2 separate regions of the Homo sapiens genome follow, and region 1 is linked to region 2. Evidence: promoter capture Hi-C in 16 types of primary human blood cells and fetal thymus (Javierre and others, 2016). All regions are on one chromosome and are shown on one strand. Each heading gives the region's core, a stretch centred on a gene start or on the middle of the fragment in contact. The rest is flanking DNA. Distances are from core to core; before and after follow the strand shown. Region 1 holds the start of TMEM74B (transmembrane protein 74B). Region 2 holds the start of FAM110A (family with sequence similarity 110 member A).

The links. The method cuts DNA at HindIII sites, captures the fragments that hold promoters and counts their contacts. A CHiCAGO score of 5 or more calls a contact.
Region 1: a contact is called between the fragment with the promoter of TMEM74B here and the fragment with the promoter of FAM110A in region 2, in 1 of 17 cell types (erythroblasts). The highest score is 5.2, in erythroblasts.

The regions. Positions count from the first base shown.
Region 1 is chr20:1,182,330-1,187,555 of GRCh38, forward strand. It overlaps TMEM74B (transmembrane protein 74B), which reads right to left and starts at 2,652. Exons shown (of 3, transcript NM_001304748.2): 1 at 1,973-2,652; 2 at 1,442-1,619. The coding sequence starts at 1,472. The HindIII fragment of the contact is 2,699 bases long and covers 2,444-5,142 here.
Region 2 is chr20:830,748-835,588 of GRCh38, forward strand. It overlaps FAM110A (family with sequence similarity 110 member A), which reads left to right and starts at 2,968. Exons shown (of 2, transcript NM_001042353.3): 1 at 2,968-3,204. RefSeq lists a silencer at 3,219-3,368. The HindIII fragment of the contact is 11,509 bases long and covers 1-4,841 here.

The DNA.
Region 1 (5,226 bases), core at 1,402-3,901, 350 kb after region 2:
AAGGGGAACAGACTGCCTCAGAGGCCAGCTGGGGCCGGCTCACAGAGGACTCTGAAAGCCAGGCCAAGGAGCCCGAGAGCCATGCAGAGCTGAGGAGCTGGAGCAGGAAGTGCCTCGGCTTCAGAAGAAAGGAGGACTGATGAGATGGGAGGGGGCAAAGTGGAGGATGGGGGTCCAGCAAGGAAGCCAGCAGGTTGGGGATGGCATGGCTAAAAGGGCCAAGAGGAAGGGGCAGACTGGAGAGCCATGACTAGGTCAAAGCCAAATGCCTTTATGTAAACAGAAGTGTGGGGACCTGGACTAGAACCACAGGAGGGGAACCGGGAGGGAGAGGCGAGAAGAGGGACACTCTCTGTGCTGCAAGAGGAGTTACCCCACCCAAGAACCTGAACACAAACCCACCCAGACACAGACAGCACATGTGCATTCCCGCTGAAGGATACTGACTTACAGCCCGGGGACCATATTTGGCTGATAGAAGTTTTGCTTTGTTTTGTTCCTGGCCTGTTCATTTGTTTTTGGTGAATTAGTTGCAAATGTATAAAAAGCAAAAGATTTTAGATTTTACATTTTAAATGTTGGATTCCTGGCTTCTCCTGCAAAATGAAAGAATCTGGCCACCTTAGGCCCCCGTTCCCTTGTAACACTCGCCTGGAGTTGGCAATCGGGGCTCTTAGGCAGATCTAGCCTCTCCCCGACAGGTCCCACCTCAGCCCCCTTCCCTGCCTGGCATGTGTCATTCCTAATCCACAGCAGAACTGCATCATTCCTTGTATACACTGATGGCCTGAGGGCACATACACTCAGAGCCCTAGGCGCACAAGCCATGGGCTACAGAGACCACCAGGTGCAGAGTGGCTCACATGCTCCGGTGTGTCTACGCACACATACATGCACACACACACGATTCTCTGCATTCTCATGCCGGAGTTTATTCTCCAGTGCACTGTGGTTCGTTCTCTGTGTGTGTGTGTGTGTGTGTGTGTTTGTGTGTGTGTGTGTGTGTAAATATGAGCAAATGAAGTGAGGATGAATGGAATGAATGAATGAATGAAACTCAAAGAGCCTCAGTGCAGGAAGACATGTTTTTCAATCTTTCTGACCTTCTTGTCAATATGGACTAGCATCAGACACCTCCTCTTAGCACATATAGGGCCTTTCATGTGAGTACAAAGCTCTTTTCCCTTTACAGCCCATTTCTATCACTACGTCTCTCTTTCCAGAGTCTCAATTTAGTAAATGTTTACCAAGCACCTACTAGCTGTTGAGCCATGTACCCGACACTTCATGCAGGAGTATCTCATATCACCCTCACCAGCCCCACGATCCGGAATTACTGTCTCTATTTCATAAAACATGGCCAAGATCCCATGGCATGTATGGGAGGGTGGAGGACAGGAGTTGAATGCAGATTCCCTAAGAATTATTATCATGTACAAACCTGCAAACTCATACCCCTGTGCTGGTGGCATCACTCCACCAGCCTTCCCTGGCTCTGCATCCCTCACTCATAGACTCTTCATTTTATCCAGCTGTTTATCAGCAACCGTGAGCACCTTGAGAGCAGGCATAAGTTTGAATTCCATCTGGGTCCCCAGCCTGCGCCCAGACTGCTTTTACTTTCCAGTGAATAGACAGAAAAAAGAGATGTGTTTGTTGGTTGGCTTTTTACTCTTAGCACCAAAAACATTTTCCTGAGTGCCCAGCCACAAACAGGGACCAGCAGTGGGTGCCACATGGGTGCTCAGAAGTGGCCCCCACCCACACCCTCAGCACCTTCCACCCAACTCAGCTCCTGGAGTGGCCCAGGAACCCCTTTCCCAGACTGATATATTGATGCCTCCACACCCTGGAAGAAATCTGGAGCTCCCAAATTCTGGGAGCAGAGCTCTCCTTCATGCTGCAGGAACCCAAAACTTTTTTCTTAGGATGCCACAGTGAGAGGGCAGAGAAAAATGAGGATTCCTCTCACCCAGAGTTAGGACATCTCTCTGTTTCATGCCCAGGTTCAGAGATATTCACCAGTTACACAAAGGCCGTGCCCAATTACCCTAACATAAGCAGAAACACACCAACTGACATAGCTGCTCCCGCCCACCATTCACACCCCACGACCCCACCAGTTACTAATTTCATCTGCAGTCAGACAGGTCCTGAAAGGAACACTCCAGTTCCACACACACTCCCCCAGCAGCTGTTCCCACAGCAGTACCCACAGACACCCAGAAGTCACGTAGTGTGACCCTCGGATCTTCGGGCCACGCGAGTACCCCGTCACACGCACACGCGCGTACACACACACACACACACACACACACACACACACAAAGTGCCCCTGGGAGTGAGACCCAAGCCAGATCCACCAAGACCCGCAGGGGCCCAATACCCCACCCGCCGCGCGCACTGACACCCGGAGAGAGGGACGCACAGCGGCTGTGGGTGAAGCTTCACAAAACCCAGTCGATAGACACACGCACGAGTTGTACACAAAGCCTTGGGGCGCGCAGATACGCACACGCAGGTCCACGCTGTTGTACCCAAAGTTGCGCGCAGAAAGCCCCAGCACGCCGGCTGCCCACCGCGCCCGCTCCCGCCGGCCCAGTCCACACCCCCTGCTCCTGCCCTTGCCCACAGACGCGGGACCCGGAAGGCCGAACCGGACCAGGCGGAGGCCCGGGGAGGCCGGGTCCCCTGGTCGCATGTCCTTCGGCGGGCCGCGAGGTCAGGCTCGCCGTCCTTCGCCGCCACTCCCCGCCCCCGGCCCTCGGCCTCCTGCCGCCCCCAGCGGTCCCCTCTCCGCGTGCGTACCTGTGCCGGGCCTCCCTCCCCGCCTCACCACGCTGGGGCGAAGGGCGCCCGGCCGCCGGCGGGCGAGGGTGCGTCCTCTCCGGTGCCCGTCCGCCTTCCTGCAGCCGGCGTACGCCTGCGGGGGTCTCGCCTGCGGGGGTCTCTCTCCTGCGGCGCAGCCCGGAGGGCGCGGGCCCGGCCGCCACCGCCTCGCCCTCCCGGTCTCCCGCCCCCTTCCCGGCCCGGCCCGGAGCCACTGCCGAGGCGCACGTACCTACTCGCGCCGCGCGGAGCTGTACGGCGGCGGTGGCGGCCGCTGGGGAGGCGGGGGGGGGATCCGGGGACGGAGGGACGGGAGAAGGGGCGGGGGCCGGGGCTCGCCGAGCGCCGCGGAGGGAGCTCCGCCCGCGGCCGGCGAGGGCGCCCGGAGAGTTAGCAAGGAGAGGGACAGGAAGGCGGGTGATGGGCTGGGGCGAGGGTGCGGGGGCTCCGATCCACCGTCCTCCCCTCCCCTCCAGGCAGATCTGGATCGCCGGCGCCTGGGCTTAGGGAACTGGGGCTTGGAGCCCGCGGTCCACGGGCGCAGGGGCGGGGCGGGCGGGGGCTGCTGAAGAAGATCCCTCCCCACCACCGGAGAGCCCCTATTGCGCCAAGCGCAGGTGCCTCCCCACTCCTCACCCCCACTCTGCCACTTCCCCTTCCCCCCACCCCCACCCCGCACGCAGCCCCCAGGTAGGACCCCGGGTCCTCTCCGAGGTCCTTAGGTCGGGACGGTCTCCTCGGGCGCTTGCGGCTCCGTGGCTCAAGGGCGCCACCTGAAGGCTGCAAGAAAGAATCCGACGATCCCCCTCCCCCTTTTCTCTGCAATTTTTTTCTCCGTGGGACAGTGGAGTGCTCCGCCCAAGAGGGGTGTTCTCCTGGGGGCATTGCCAATGGCCAAACACACCCTCACCCTCCAAGGCCCAGCTGTGGGGCCTCTTCTCCTGGAACCCCTCCCTGGGCACACACCCACTTACCCCACGGGCCCCTCCATCTGGGCTCTCCTTTTGCCCGCACTGTTTGCTCTTGTCTCTGACGGTCGTGATTTTGTTTAAGGGTCAGCCTCCTCCATCGGATTGGCAGCTCCTGGAGAGCAGGACCCATGTCTGATCACCTAGAAGACCTAGGTGGGTGTGGGTGAACAGGCTGTGAAAAGGGGTGACTTTCACTTCTTTCCTTTACAGGGCCGGAGTTAAGATGAGTCCAGCGAAGTGCCTAGAGTACCAAATTCATGGAGACGTTTCCTCTTTGGGGAACACACGCCAACCCCAGAGACAGCTTTGGTCTGAATCGTGCAGGTTCCGGGAAGACACGGTGACCAGCTGAATCGTGTGGTCTCGGTTAGTACCTCTGGCCTCTGAGCCTGTATCCACTTCTGTCCATGAGGATTGTGAATGTGCAGGCTTTGAGGGCTCTGGGAAGGCCAGCAGAAGTTGGCCATGTGGAAGGACAGGCGAATGAGTGTGCCATGTCCTGCTCCTCGGCCACCTCATGAGCGGAGCCTGACCTGCCCTCCTCCAAAGTTCTGTGCAGCCCTCCCCAACCAGGAGACTGGAAGTCACCCTGGATGATGGATGCCTGTGCCTTCAAGGCCAGCATAGCCTAGCCCTAGGCAGGTCCACCAGGGCTGGGAAGGCCTCCATTTCCTCCCAGCCTTGCAGAGGCCTGGCCCGTTGTTAGAGACTTCAAAGGGATGCTAGCCCTGGCACCACACTCCTGTTCAAATCCCAGCTCCACCCCCACAGCTGGGTGCCCTGGTGTAAAGGACTGCCCTCCTGGAGCTCGGTTTCCTCCTCTGTGAAACGGATGTAGGAAGTGTTATGGGAATGGGATGAGATACCGCCTTTAAAGCACTCACTGTTCCTTCCCTCAGTCATGCGCTGTCCTACCTCAGCCTTTGCGCTGGCTGTTCCTTCTGCCTGGGACGTTTTTCTTTCTGATATTTCCCGCACTCACCCCCTTCCCTCACTTCCTTCAAGTCTTTGCTCAAATGCCACCTTCTCAGAGACGCCATTCCAGGCCATCCTTTCAAAAATAGCAGTGCCCCAGCACTCTTTACTCCCTCACTCTGAATTTTTCTCTATAGCACTTACCAACTGACATTAGTTTCTGTTTGCTTATTGCCACCTCCCCTAAAAAATAAGTGCCAAAAGAAGAGGGTTTTTGCCTGTTTCCCTCCCTGCAGTATCCCCAGACACTAGAAAAGGGGCTAACACCTAGGAAGCTCTGGATAAGTGCTCACTGAATAAAGAACAGAGAAAATGGGCAAATATTATATACTAGTTAGCTAGGTAGACTCCATCCCTACACTCAGGAAGCTTGTATTCTAGTGGGAGAAAAGGATAAGTAAATGTAACATTGCAGTTATAGTAAATGCTACCAAATAAAAGTATAGAGTGC
Region 2 (4,841 bases), core at 1,718-4,217:
CAGCTAATTTCTTTTTAAAATTTTTTTGTAGAGCTGGGGATCTCGCTTTGTTGCCCAGGCTGGTCTGAAGCCCCTGGGCTCAGGCACTCCTTCCACCTCGACCTCCCAAAGTGGTGGGATTACAGGCATGAGCCACCTTATTGTGGTTTCTTGTCTCTTTCTAACCAAATCTTCACTTTATTACTTAATTTCATATCTGTAATTTTTTCTTAAAGAGGTCTCCCTAGGGCTGGACGTGGTGGCTCACGCCTGTAATCCCAGCACTTTGGGAGGCCGAGGTGGGTGGATCGCCTGAGGTCAGGAGTTCAAGACCAGCCTGACCAACATACTGAAACCCTGTCTCTACTAAAAATACAAAAAATTAGCGGGTATGGTGGCGGGCACCTGTAATCCCAGCTACTCAGGAGGCTAAGACAGGAAAATCACTTGAACTTGGGAGGCAGAGGTTGCAGGGAGCTGAGATCGTGCCATTGCATTCCAGCCTGGGCGATAAGAGTGAAACTCTGTCTCAAAAAAAAAAAAAAAAAAAAAAAAAGAAGTCTCCCTAGGCTGAAGCTACCTGCTCAATCTTCTCTTGTGTCTTATAGGATCACAGGATCCCCCTTGCCTTACCTCACTGTTACTCCCAAACAGTTCTCACATGTTTACAAGGGAATGTAACAGAGTGGATCAGAGAATTCATTCTGGATCCAGACCGACCTTAGTTTTCTCATCTATATAATGGGAATAATAGCAGGATCTCTCGCCTTAGATAGTCATGAAGTCCAATGAGATGATGTGTATAAAGCCCTAACACAATGTAGCAGAGGGCACAGGGCCAGGATTGATATTTAGCTGGTCCTCACGGATACAGCAGACTCCCTGTTTATGACAGTGGTTGGCTCTGATTTGGTTGGTGTCCATGCCAGAGTGTACAATCATTATTAGCTATTGATATATTATTAGCTCCCTCCCCTGCCCACCCAGGGGTTTACGCAGTAAGTTCTCAATTATTGGCAATCCAAACAAAGAATAAAAGACACCAGCTGGAATGAAACAGAGAAGCTGGTTCCAAATTGAGCAATTCAGACTGACTGCTATAAAATTTCCTCACCTTAAAGGCCCTTAGAGTTAATTCATTCTAATCCCCCTAAAAATATACTTTTTTGACATGTTCAAGTATTGGAAATTTGGAAAATTCACAAAAACACAAAGAAGAAATTAACTGCTGTGATTATAGATGATTATACACATATACATATGTATTTAATACATATTTATGCTGTACATAGTGTTTTGAAGCATACTGTACTTCAAAAAAATTTGGGAGGGGTGCATTGGCTTATGCCTGTAATCCTAGAAATTCAGGAGGCCAAAGCAGGAGGATCACTTGAGGCCAGGAGTTCTAGACTGGCCTGGGGCAACATAGCGAGACCCGTAGCTTGACATGGTGATGCGGGCCTGTAGTCTTAGTTACTCTGGAGGCTGAGGTGTGAGGATTGCTTCAACCTAGGTTACAGTGAGCTATGATTGCACCACTGCACTCCACCCTGGGCAACAGAGCTAGACCCTGTCTCTAAAAAACATAAATAAACCAATGTTTAATACTTAGCATTTCCCCCTATCTTTAAATATCTTCTAGCTACTTCACTTTTATTTTTATCTTTTTGAGATGATCTCTTGCCCAGGTTGGGGTGCAGTGGCATGATCTCAGCTTACTGCATCCCCCACATCCCAGGTTCAATCTATTCTCCTGCCTCAGCCTCCTGAGTAGCTGGGATTACAGGCATGTGGCACCACGCCTGGCTAATTTTTGTATTTTTAGTAGAGACGAGGTTTCACCACGTTGGCCAGGCTGGTCTTGAACTCCTGACTTCAGGTGATCTGGTCGCCTCAGCCTCCCAAAGTGCTGGGATTACAGGTGTGAGCCACTGCTCCTGGTAGCTACTTCACTTTTAATGGCTGCATAATATTCCTCATCAGAAAGTGGGAAAAATTAGGCTAGGTGGCGTGGCTCATGCCTGTAATCCTAGTACTTTGGGAGGCTGAGTTGGTAGAATTGCTAGAGCTCAGGAGTTTAAGATCAGTCTGGGCAACATGGCAAAACCCCATCCCTACAAAAAATACAGAAAATACCGGGTGTGGTGGTGCACACCTGTAGTCCCAGCTACTTGGGAGGCTGAGGTGGGAAGATTGCTTGACCCCAGGAGATTGAGGCTGCTGTGAGCTGAGATCCTGCCACTGCACTCCAGCCTGGGCGACAGAGTGAGACTCCATCTCAAAAAAAAAAAAAAAAAAAGAAAAGAAAAAGATAAAGAAATAAATAAAGTGTTAATAATTAAAAGTACTTTTAGAGGGTTATGTCATAAGCCTTGACAAGACTTGTTCTGTAAAGCTACCCGGCATGCAAAAAGCTCAATTAAGTTAGCTCCTCCACAGGATGGAATTATATAACCAATCCCTTTCAAGAGGCATTGAAGTTGTTTCCATTATTTTGCTATGATGAATAAGGCTGAGCAATATTAATCTTTGCTCATATCTTTGGTCATTTCCTTTGTAAATTTCGGGACTGCTGGGTATGCACATTTTAAAATTAACTCACTCATCATCATGCAGTTAGGAGAACAGAGAAAGGAAGGGGCTTGCACCGGGTCACATAGGGAGTTAGCGTCAAAGTCAGGACTAGGAACCAGCCAGGGCCCTCTAACTGGAGCTCTTCCAGCTGGGGTCCTAGAGGAAGTCCCAGCTGGCCGCGGGAGGGAGGAGGAGGAAGGGAAAGAACCAGGCGCCGGGGCTGAAGCGGCGGCAGGAAGAAGGTGGGGCCGGCTGGGAGGAGCGGGCGGAGCTGCTGAGCAGCGCCTCTCCTTCGGGCGGGGGAAGCTAAGCGGTCGCCTGGCAACCCTGGCGGCGCGCCGTTCGAACGGAAGCGAGGAACCAATCAGGAAGTCCGGGGCGAACCATTCTGGTGTGAAGGGGGGCGGCGTGCTCACTTCCCCTTCCACGGCGCCCCAGGGACTTTCCCTGCGGTGGGGGCCTTCGACAGTGAGGGCCACCCGCTCAGCTCGACCGCGGAGGGCAGCTCCAAAGGGGACCCCAAAGGTGCCCACGCGGGGCTGGGGCCTCCTGGGCGTCGTTGGGAGCGGCCACTACCGGCCCGGGTCCGAGCTGTCAGCCTCTCCAAAGCCTGCGCGAGAGGAGCCGGGACACGCCTAGCGCGGGCTCCAGGTGAGGGCGCGGGTGGGTCCGGGTGCGACCCCGGGTCTGGGGGCCCCGTTCCCCGAGCGTCTGCTGTCTGCTTTCTCCCCGCGTCGTACCTGCGTGTCATTTCACAGATGAGGACTCTGAGGCTCAGAGAGGCAAGTGTCCCGGCCCGGCGAGCTCTGGCGGAGAATCCAGTTCAAGTCTTTCTGCCCCACCTCGCAGCCCCCTAGTCTAGTCACATCTGGACTTGCCTTGAGAGGCCCAGACGGGCAACTGGTAGTCATTTTCCCAGCGTTTTATCGGCAGGGACCTGTAGACCCCTGGCTGGATCACATATCCCCGCGCCCCACACTGTCCTCGGGATACCCCCTTTGGGCGTCTGTCTTTCCTTCTCCGCAGTCCGGGGTTGGACTCGGCTCATTTGGCGCCTTTCTGTCTACGGGGACAGAGGACCACTCTTTGGGGATCGGACGGGACTGACATTTCTGGGCTGGATGCAGGGGCAGCAGATTCTCCAGCCCCCAGAGCCGCTGCTGGCCTCTTGGGAATCATCCCCAGTTTGGGGAAGGGAATAGAGCCAGTCCCTAAACCAAAGCCACTAGTCACCAGAGACTTTGGAATTGGGAGTGGGGCCGGAATCCCCCCAGGTGGAGCAGCTGACCTAGGCCAGACCCTGCTGTGTCTCCTGGGGACACCCCCTGCCCCCTAGGTTGCTATTGTCAGTCTCCTTTTGTAGGTGGGGAAACGGAGGTTCTAAGAAGTTAAGCCCCTTTTCGAAGTCACAGTCAGACAATGCAGTGGTTAGCTCCTAGTCCCTCTGGCTTCAATCTTAGAATCCTTGACACACAGAATCATGCATTTTGAGAGTCTTCAATCTCTTCATAAGGGAGTTACATATCCTCTCTCCTCTGGAGCCTGCCCCTGGCTTTGGGGGACAGGATCTCCGAGGACTCAGAAAGAAAACAAGGCTTTCTTTTATTCTTTCAACAAATATTATTTATTGACTTCATAAGCCCTGCTCTGGTTCTTGCATGTTTTGGTTTTTTTACTTATTAGCAAATGTATCATCTTCTCCCACTGTGATGCAAGGCAGGGGCTGAGGCAATTGAGCCAGTGCAAAATTTAGGGATGCCCAAAACCTCAGTAATCAAGACTGAAACTAACGTTCATGGACCATTTGTGTGTTCTGCAGGCAGGAGGTTAACTCACACAGCCTTCATGAAGTGCAGTCCTCCCATCTCTCTCTCTCTCTCTCTCTCTCTCTCTCTCTCTCTATATATATATATACACACACACATATATACACACACACATATATGTATATATATGTATGTGTGTATATATGTATATATGTGTATATATATGCATATTTATAAATCATGAAACCACTGCCCTGTCCCTGAGTTGCTCTGTGACATTGAGTAAGTTTCTTCAGTCTCTGGGCTGAGCTAAGAAGTCATGATGGTGCACTCAGGCCTGGGCAGAGGGCAGTCTAGGATAGGAAGTGGGCTTGGCTGTGGATCTGCCTCCCCCTCCCCTTTCTAATCCTGCGTGCCAGGCCCTTCCCCAAGACCTTGCATGTGTTATCTTCCATTCTGTCCTCACTGCAAAATCCTTCATCCCCATTTTGCAACCTCAAGTGCAGACCTAGGCCTAGAAGA